2 separate regions of the Homo sapiens genome follow, and region 1 is linked to region 2. The links are contacts of gene promoters, found by promoter capture Hi-C in blood cells and fetal thymus (Javierre and others, 2016). All regions are on one chromosome and are shown on one strand. Each heading gives the region's core, a stretch centred on a gene start or on the middle of the fragment in contact. The rest is flanking DNA. Distances are from core to core; before and after follow the strand shown. Region 1 has its middle 94 kb from the start of RPS6KA2. Region 2 holds the start of CEP43 (centrosomal protein 43).

Region 1 (4,154 bases), core at 1,526-4,025, 280 kb after region 2:
TGCTTTACTTTCCAGAAGGGGGGACTTGAGCAAGAGGCTGGGCACTGAGCCAGGATGGCAGGGCTAGGAAACGTTCGAGGCAGGGGCAACCCAAGCCTGCCAGCCCCAGCCCAGCCTTCCCACCAGGCGGGGGTCCATTTAAGGTACATCTGCCCTGACTTGTTGACAACTTTACTTGGGCCTTACTCCAACAGTATTCTGGGCTCTTTTACTGTAGTCTCCACAGAGCTTTTTCTCTAAGTCCTTGCAGCGCCCCAAACCTTGCATCGCTTAACGGTTGTCATAGTCGCCAAGTGTAGGCACAGACAGACCTTGGAGGCGGTGGTGTCTCGCGAGTTGTGATGAGTCCTGTGGACTCGGAGAGGGAGCTGTGCAAAGAGTAACCGAAATTACTCCAGAAATGCAGAGAGGAATGGGCTGAAAATGCAGCGATTGAAGCTCATGGAAACTGAAGTGTCACTGGAGGTAAAGTCTAAGTAGTAGACTGAAGGACGAATCTCAAAAAGGGAGGCATTTGCTTCACGTGGAGAAGCACGTGTATCAAGCGTTTCAGAGAATGGGATTGGAGAATTCAACAGCTCCGCATCCACAACAAGCTCGGGCAGCCCCATCAGAAAGGTGTCCTGGCTCTTCTTTTTACAGAACTCCAGGGATAGGCTAGTGAGGGTCACGGACCCAAAGCCAGGTGGACATTCCACTCCCATTGCAGCCACCAGTCTTGGAAGTGCCACCCCAGCCTCTGTGGCTGTGGGCCCTGTGGGTTCCACGTGGCGTGGGCCACGGTGATTTTAGAACCAGGATGGACTGTCCTCACAACCGAAAGAGGGAAAATACAATAAGATAAGGGGAGCCCTCTGTGCCTCCCACCCCCTGCGGCTCCTCCATTTTTCCATCACTTTCACCTGCTTTGTTGAGTGTCTGACCCGCCTTACAAAACGCTTTTCCACTCTAAGCGTCTTCAGCTTCTCCTTCTGTGTGTGGGATCTCCAGTCTCCAAGCTCACGTTCCAGCATGGTTTTGAATTGGGGCAGAATCATGCAGGGGTTGGAACACAGGGCTGGAATTTAGGATGGATGATTGGACCTTCTGAGTCACACTCCACTTTCTTCACCAACTCCTAAAATGCAAACTGCTTTTACCTACTGAGTTATTCTGCTTATATTTCTAATTTTTCTGATTGTATTATATTCTGATTATATTTTGGTTCTGGTTATATTTTCCTACTGTATTTATATTTACTCCACTATGACATTCCAAATAAAGTGGACTATTTTAATGAGTCTATATGTGTGAAATGTGTACCTAAACATTTTGCACAAATGGTGGTATCCCTGCCGGCGAGGAAGCATGATAGGAATCAGGCTATTTTTGAGTCAGAGGATCTGGATCCGGGGCCGAGGCTGGCACCGGCTCCTCCTCTGAGCTGGCACCGGCTCCTCCTCTGAGCTGGCACCTCCTGGGGGAAGCAGCTGAGCTGATGAGCGAGGTTGCAAGGTGGGGCGGGAGCTTCTGTTAAAGTCCAGCTCTGCTAACTCTGCCGCCCGCCCACTGGGTGAAATGCTCCTGAAGCAGCTGTGCATCTTTCCCGTCCCCGAGACTCGGTCTTAGAAGGAGGGGCCCAGACGCAGACCCACTGCGATCACCCAGCACTGCCCGGAAAGCTGCCTAGCTTTACGAAGCTCTAGCATGTTCATCTGTGATTTTGTTCGTGAAACTAGAAAGTTTCTGTTAAGAAAGAGCCATTTGGAAAGCTTGATCTTCTAGAAGTTTTAAAATTCTTTTACTAGGCACCATCTGGTAAAATCTCTGGCAAGGGAGGGATGTGGCAATGGAGGGGGTTCAGCTGTGGCTGTGGCCACGTCAGGACCCAGTGTCTGGGCTAGGCCTGTGCTCCCGGGTCCTGGCCGTCAGATGAATTCTAAGTGTTGTCAGATGTAACTTTGCCTCTCCGGTATTTTCCCTCTCTTGTTGGAGGCTGCAGTCTTTTGAGGAAACCCATCCAAGCAGAGGAGACCCTCAGTCGCACCCCCGATGTCCCCCGCCTTTCCACCTTTCCTGTGTTATTTGTCCTTATCCATAGATGTTTTGATGTTAAACCATTTCATTAGACACACCAATCTGAGTGACAGATTTCAAGTAGGGATCCTCGTGAAATTGTTAAGAAATTAGTCACCTTGTAAAGTAACGATGGAGCACTTGCTTGTGTGAACTCAGGTGTTAAGAGGTACACAGACTAGTGGGGTCATTTCCATTTCCTGTGAAGTGTATGTAAGATGACTTTTAACTGTGAAATCACCCTTTAGTGTTAAACATGCAGCTTCTCAAAGCGTCTTCTCCTCAACTATCTGAGATTAAACACAGGAGCTCATCCCTGCTTCGTGGGAGGTTCTAGGCTCCCTGTGATTTAGTGGCAGCTAGGCAGGTACGGCCTTGCTGCTCTGCACAAATCAAACTCGCTGTGCCGGAGTTTCCTTCTGAGTAAAATAAGGGTGATTGGAATGGGCTACTCTGTCCATAATGAGGATATGATATGAATGTAAAATGCGAGGCACAAACTAGACATTTAATACACAGAGGTCATTTTTCTTATGACCAAGTATTTCCCTTTATTTAGAGTTAGAAATATGTTCAAACTATCTCAAAAAGTGAATTATTTAGTGCTAGTTTCTCATACAAGGACTTCCTAGATTCTTTGATAATGCCTTTCTTTCTCTTACACTTTTATTTTTGGGGAGAGATTTCTAGGTGGTGACTGACAGCTCCGTTTCTGCAGTCAGAGAGCCTTGGATTTTCATCTGGGTTCCTGGGTTCCTTTGGGGAAAAGAAGTGCATTGCAGATATTCTGTGTTCAATATCACCCATCCATTCTTTTATTTAGGTGACATATTTCTCCATTTATTATAATGATTAGAAACCTGTTCTTTGTAGTGAGCTTAGAAGATGAATAATGTAATTAATATGATGTTCCCAACTTATGAGTTTATAAATAGTGCATTCCAAGCACATAAGAGGAGCTCACTAAATGGTAGTTATTGTTGTATAGGGTTCACCAAAATTTGAATACTTATTACCTAAAATAAAATAGGAATAGGAATTTAATACAAAGATGCCCACTTTACAATGTTTTGTTGTTTAAAAGTGTGCCTTGAATTATTTCAATGAGGAATCCTTACATAAGTGAAAGTCTTATTAATAGTAATTATAAGAAATAGCACTCAGGGTATTTTGGGGCTTGAAGATTTCTGAATTGGGAATTTAAGCCAGCTAAAGGTTTAGAGTTAACTTCTTTCTCCCACATATCTCAAAGCTGCCACTCTTTCAGAAATTTGCCATGAAATTCCTTCTGGAAACTGTGGTTGAAAGTTGGCACATAGCATTTGCAAATTATAATATGAACATTCTTTATAAGATCTCCCAGATATACTCTAATCAGCATAACTAGGATGATGCTTGTTGGGATCAATGCAAGACTGATGATCATGCTCCCTTGCAGTTCCTGAGCCGAAAGTAGTCGGCTTTCAGTCTGAAACTAGTGAGATTGACTATCCCTCCGTTGATGAACGTTTTAATGATAAGTGAGTAGAGTTGGAGATGCATTCATTTAATCATTCCTTTGACATTTAATAATACATGATCAAACACTGAGTTAGTTTCAGAGTATCCATTGTGGGGTTTAAGAAGACCATGCAAAATAGATGTATTTTCATAGATACATCGTCACAGACATGTGTTGTTCAAAGGCAGTTAAAATGGCAGAGAAGGAGAGATTGCAGGTTACTTGTCTTTCCAAACAAGCTTAAATTCATTTAAAGCTCTCATTGATATCAAACCTTGCATACATTCTGGCTATGTGAGCTAGGGATGATTTTTACATATTTTAACAGTTGGAAAAAAGTCAAAAGAAGATTTCATGATGCATAAAAATTGTATGAAATTCAAATCTCAATGTCCATAAATAAGCATTTGTGGAAACCTATTCTTTGTAGTGAGCTTGGAAGATGAATAATGTAATTAACATTATGTTCCCAACCTGAGAGTTTATAAATAGTGCATTCCAAGCACATAAGAGGAGCTCACTAAATGGTAGCAATGTCCAATACGCATTCTAAGAACGCAGCCATGCACATTCATTTACGTGTTGTCTGTGGCAGTTT
Region 2 (4,470 bases), core at 49-2,548:
AGAGGACAGTAGACTGATTTGTCATACAGCAAGAGTTTAAGGCTTTGATGATGGTTCTATTCTTGTTGACAAATTCCAGAATATTTACTCAGGATGGTTGGTGGGACTCCGAAAAAGTTAAATTACCCACTTAAATATAGAGTAGTGGCTGCACTTTTAAAATAATCGCTGTCTTTTTCATTGTCAAAATAATTGAGTGGTCAGATAATTTTGGGAAAAGTTGCATACTATATACCCCGTTTCATAGGGATTAATAACATATTAGCTTACTAAAGGATCTGAGTGAACCTGCACTTAACACATTGACAATGGCACCATTTCTTCAAGAAACTCCTATGACCATTTGTTTCAGATTAAGCATTAGTATCAGAGTTACTGTGGTACCTTAAGATTACCCCCAAATTCAAAAGCTACACGAAAAAAGAATAATTTTGGCTCTCTCTCAATAGTAATGTAATCCTTAACAGTTCAAAATTATCCCTAGCTATATGTTACTATAAACTATTTTTAAGACGGTTTTTAATGAATAAGAAATTAAGTATTAACGAATACAGCCATGTTAAAATCTGGAAACTTCATACCTCTACTTTTTCTTGCTCCTCTAGTGCTAAAAACACAGCTGCTCGGAGTTCAGCCTTAAAAAAAAGTTAAGAAACAGGAAATTATAATTTCAAGACAATTTTCACAACAAGCTCACATTTATCCAGCAACAAACACGAGCAAGCCAACGAGCTGGGAGGGCAGGTGCAAAGGTCAGAAACGCCTTCCGAAACGTTCTCAGTCACACAAGCTCTCCGACCCCCAGGCTTCGGCTGGACGCGCTGCTTTCCCGCCGCGGATCATGCCCGAGCCTGAGGAAGAGACGCTGGGGCCGCACTCCAGGGCCCAGCTGCGGGCCGCCCGTGTGGCCCCCAAGCCCCGCGGTCCCGCCCCCACGGAATGAGGCAGGGGATGGGCCAGGCACCCCCAGTCCGCGGTGCCCTCCGGGACCACACGAACGAACGAGCCGACCCCCTCTGTGGGGCGGGCAGGACGGAGGCCATGCCGGGGCGCGCCCCCAGTGCCCGCCGGCCCCGGTCCCTCGCCAGGGAGGCGGCCTCCTCGCCGCGACCGTTGTGACGCCCGCTGTCCACGCAAGCCCTGCGGATCCGCCAGGCCCGGCCCCAGCCTCCGGCCTCACCTTGATGCGGTTCAGGACCCCGCTGTTCTCCAGCGTCTGCACCAGCAGGTCCCGCAGCTCCGTGTCCTCCTCGGCCACCACTGCGGCCGCCGTCGCCGCCATCTTGCTTCTCCAAGACAACCGCCGAAGCCGCGCTAACGGCCAACGGCCGCAGCAGGGTACGCTCCGCGCGCGGGCTACGCGGCCGACGCAGCCAAAGCCCCGCCCCGACGCGCAGCGCGCTGGCCCTGCCCCCTGGCGTCGGGAGGCGGGGCATAGAGACCTCGGGGTTGACGCTGGACACCGAGCCTTGGGGAGCGCCGGACCACTGAGCGCCGAAACTTAGGGTCGGCGCTGGGGGCGGGGCTGCGGGGCGCGGGTGGGCACGCAAGGGGCGGGGCGTCGGCGGGGCCTCCAGCCGGCAACCCGTTGGCTGCCGTCGCCTGAGGCGCGAGCTTTGAAGCCGGCGAGCGGTGAGGAGGAGGCGCCCTCGCGTGTGGAGAGCGGACTCCGCCTGGACTCCACCGCCCACGGCCGCATCCCATCGCCGCACAAGATCGCCGGAGTCATATTATCGACGTAGTTAAAGCCCACTAGCCTAAAGCCGGGCGGACTGCGGTAAGGAGGCCCCGAGACCGAACCTGCAGCCCCTGCAGCCCCGGGGGGGCGCCGGGGAAGGGACTCCCGAGAGGTCGCGAGGGGCGGAAGGCCCTGCAGGTTGTCACCCGGAAATAACGTTCTGAGGCCCCCCAGCCAGGCGAACGCACCCTGCTCGGCCACGGCCTCCGAGGCTAACCGGAAAGGTGCCAGGCCGAGGTGCAGGGGCGGGATGGCCCCAGGAAGAGCCGAGGGCCGAGGAGGGCGTTGGGTGGGCTCCGCGCTGCCCGAACTGGGGCCGCAGTCTCCACTCCCTCCTGCCCCGCGGCCCTCCGCCGACAGCCAGGCGCCGGCGGGGAGTCCTGGACCCCTCCCGGGCCCTGGAAGCCCCGTCCCGCCGGAGCTGACGCGCCCTCTTGGTATCCATCCGGCCGCCTGGGCTGCCCCTCGCCCCTCGCCTTGGCAAAACCAGCCCCCGGACCGAGCCCTGCCTTGGAGAGTGTGGGTGCGCAAGGCCAGCCGAGCTGTCGGTTCCGGGGTTTCGGGGTGCGCCACTGTATGGCGGCGTAAGCCGAGAAGTGTCCGAGGCCGGGCTCCAGCAGTTGAGAGGCTGATTTGGCCACGGTGAAGGACGCGCCCGGAGGAAGGAAACGGGAATCCGAAACGGGCGGTGGCCGCGCCTTTCCCGAGGCCGGCGTCGAGGGCTTCAGCGCCTCAGGGTGGGCGGGAGGGGAAGGTCGTGCGACCCGCGTGGCCGGCGGAAAGGAGCAGCGGGAGCCGCGGCCGTAGGGAAGCCACGGGAAGACGGGCGGCTGCGCTGCGATGCGCGGCCCTCTCCCTGAAGCCCTCGGCTCAGGCGCCACAGGAAAGGCTCCTTCGGGCAGGCCTCAGCTTTCAGCTTAAGTTTTTTTCCTTTGGCCGAGTCAACTGCGGTGCCGAGTTGTATTTTCCTTTCAGAGGTGTGTCCGAGAACCATTCTTAGGAGACGCCTGCCGGCCGCTTTGGGATAGGGCCTGTCTGCCCATGCTGGCTTCCAAAGGCCTCTGTGTGTTCCTGTATGTGGGCGTGCACGTACCTGTCACATGTGTACGCGCAGACCACAGGATGTCCACACTGGCTTCCAAACACATCTCTGTGTTTCTGTCTGTGAGTGTGTACGCAGGTGTCAAATGTGTACGCACAGATCACAGGGTGTCCACACTGGCTTCCAAACACGTCTCTGGGTTCCTTTATGTGCGTGTGTATGCACTTGTCATGTGTACACACAGATCACAGGGCATCCACACTGGCTTCCAAACATGTCTCTGTGTTTCTGTCTGTGGGTATGTACACACATATCACATGTGGAAGAGGTAGGAAGAGGCTGGAACAGGTAAGGGTCATGAAGGTGCAGTGCACTATTGTACTGTTTGCGCTTTATATGTGTTTGGTTAGTTTTGCAAGAACATGCTGGTGAAGGAGAGAGAACCCCAAACAATTGATTAGCAGTGCTACTGAAACTCAGATATACACAGGAATGGCAAAGAAACATCTATGAAAAAAAGCAGATTCTGGAACTCCATCTCCCTGAGATTGTCACTCATGGGGTCTGCAGGAAGTTTCAGGAATCTGCATTTTCTTCTAATAAACGTGGTCCACAGGTTATAAGTTGAGATACAAATAGAATATATAAAGTAAAAAAGGAAAATTTGAAGTTTCCTGCCTAGCCCAACTCTTCTCATTGGTAGTGTCTGTTAAATTGGAAACATATCTCTTTCCAGACATATTAATACCTTTTATACAGTTGACTCTTGAACAACATTAGTTTGAACTGCGTGAGTACACTTATATGTGGATTTTTTTCAGTAAATGGAATATTTTTGGCGATGGCAACAATTTTGTGAAAAACCTCACAGATGAGTCGCTTAGCCAAGAAATATGGAAAAAAAAAGAAAAGAAAAAGCTAGATATGTCATGAATGCATAAAATATATGTAGATACTAGGCCATTTTATTATTTACTATCATAAAATATATACAAGCCTGTTATAAAAAGTTAAAATTTATCAAAACTTACACGTACAAACAGACAGTTACATGGCACCCATTAGGTTCAAGAGAGGTGTAAACAGTTGTAAAGATGCAATATTAAATAATAACTGCATCAAATTCACTGTAGTACATAGAGTACTACTGTAATGATTTTGTAGCCACCTCCTGTTGCTATTGCAGTGAGCGTCAGTGTTGCTGGTATTGGCTAAAAATTCCAAGTAACATAATCATCTCTGAGTGAGCAGTTGATCTCTCCAGTACATTGCATATCACAGTAAAAGGTAAGCTCTTGAGGTTCTCACATATTTCTCGTTGTGTTCACTGCAGTACTGTAAACCTTGCGTAACACCATGGGACCATTACGAAGTGCCGCTAGTGGTGCTGGAAATGCTCCCAAGAATCAGAGAAAAGTTAATGACATTACAGAAAAAGCGGAATTGCTTGCTGTGTATTGTAGATTGAGGTCTGCAGCTAAGGTCGCCTGCCATTTTAAGATAAATGAATCCAGTATAAGGACTGTGGTATAAAAACAAAAGGAAGTTTATGAAGCCATCGCTGCAGCTACACCAACAAGCATGAAAACCTTGCACTTTTTGGGAAATACCTTTTTATCTCATATTGCAAATGCAGCTTTTTGTGGGTGCAGGATTGCTATGAGAAAGGCATACCTATATAATCTAATAT

The links. Contacts are between HindIII fragments. The CHiCAGO score rates a contact against its expected background, and 5 or more counts as called.
Region 1: a fragment that was not itself captured here is called in contact with the fragment with the promoter of CEP43 in region 2 in 2 of 17 cell types (erythroblasts and neutrophils); the score reaches 7.2 in erythroblasts.

What each region holds. Positions count from the first base shown.
Region 1 is chr6:166,719,111-166,723,264 of GRCh38, reverse strand. It overlaps a transcript of RPS6KA2 not described here. Among named protein-coding and RNA genes, the nearest start is that of RPS6KA2, 94 kb to the right of the region's middle. The HindIII fragment of the contact is 2,044 bases long and covers 1,754-3,797 here.
Region 2 is chr6:166,996,225-167,000,694 of GRCh38, reverse strand. CEP43 (centrosomal protein 43) reads right to left here and starts at 1,298. Exons shown (of 13, transcript NM_007045.4): 1 at 1,181-1,298; 2 at 582-635. The coding sequence starts at 1,282. It overlaps MIR3939 (microRNA 3939), which reads left to right and starts at 2,783; the gene lies at 2,783-2,888. RefSeq lists silencers at 837-926, 937-1,096, 1,187-1,706, 1,997-2,226 and an enhancer at 2,767-2,816. The HindIII fragment of the contact is 9,184 bases long and covers 1-4,470 here.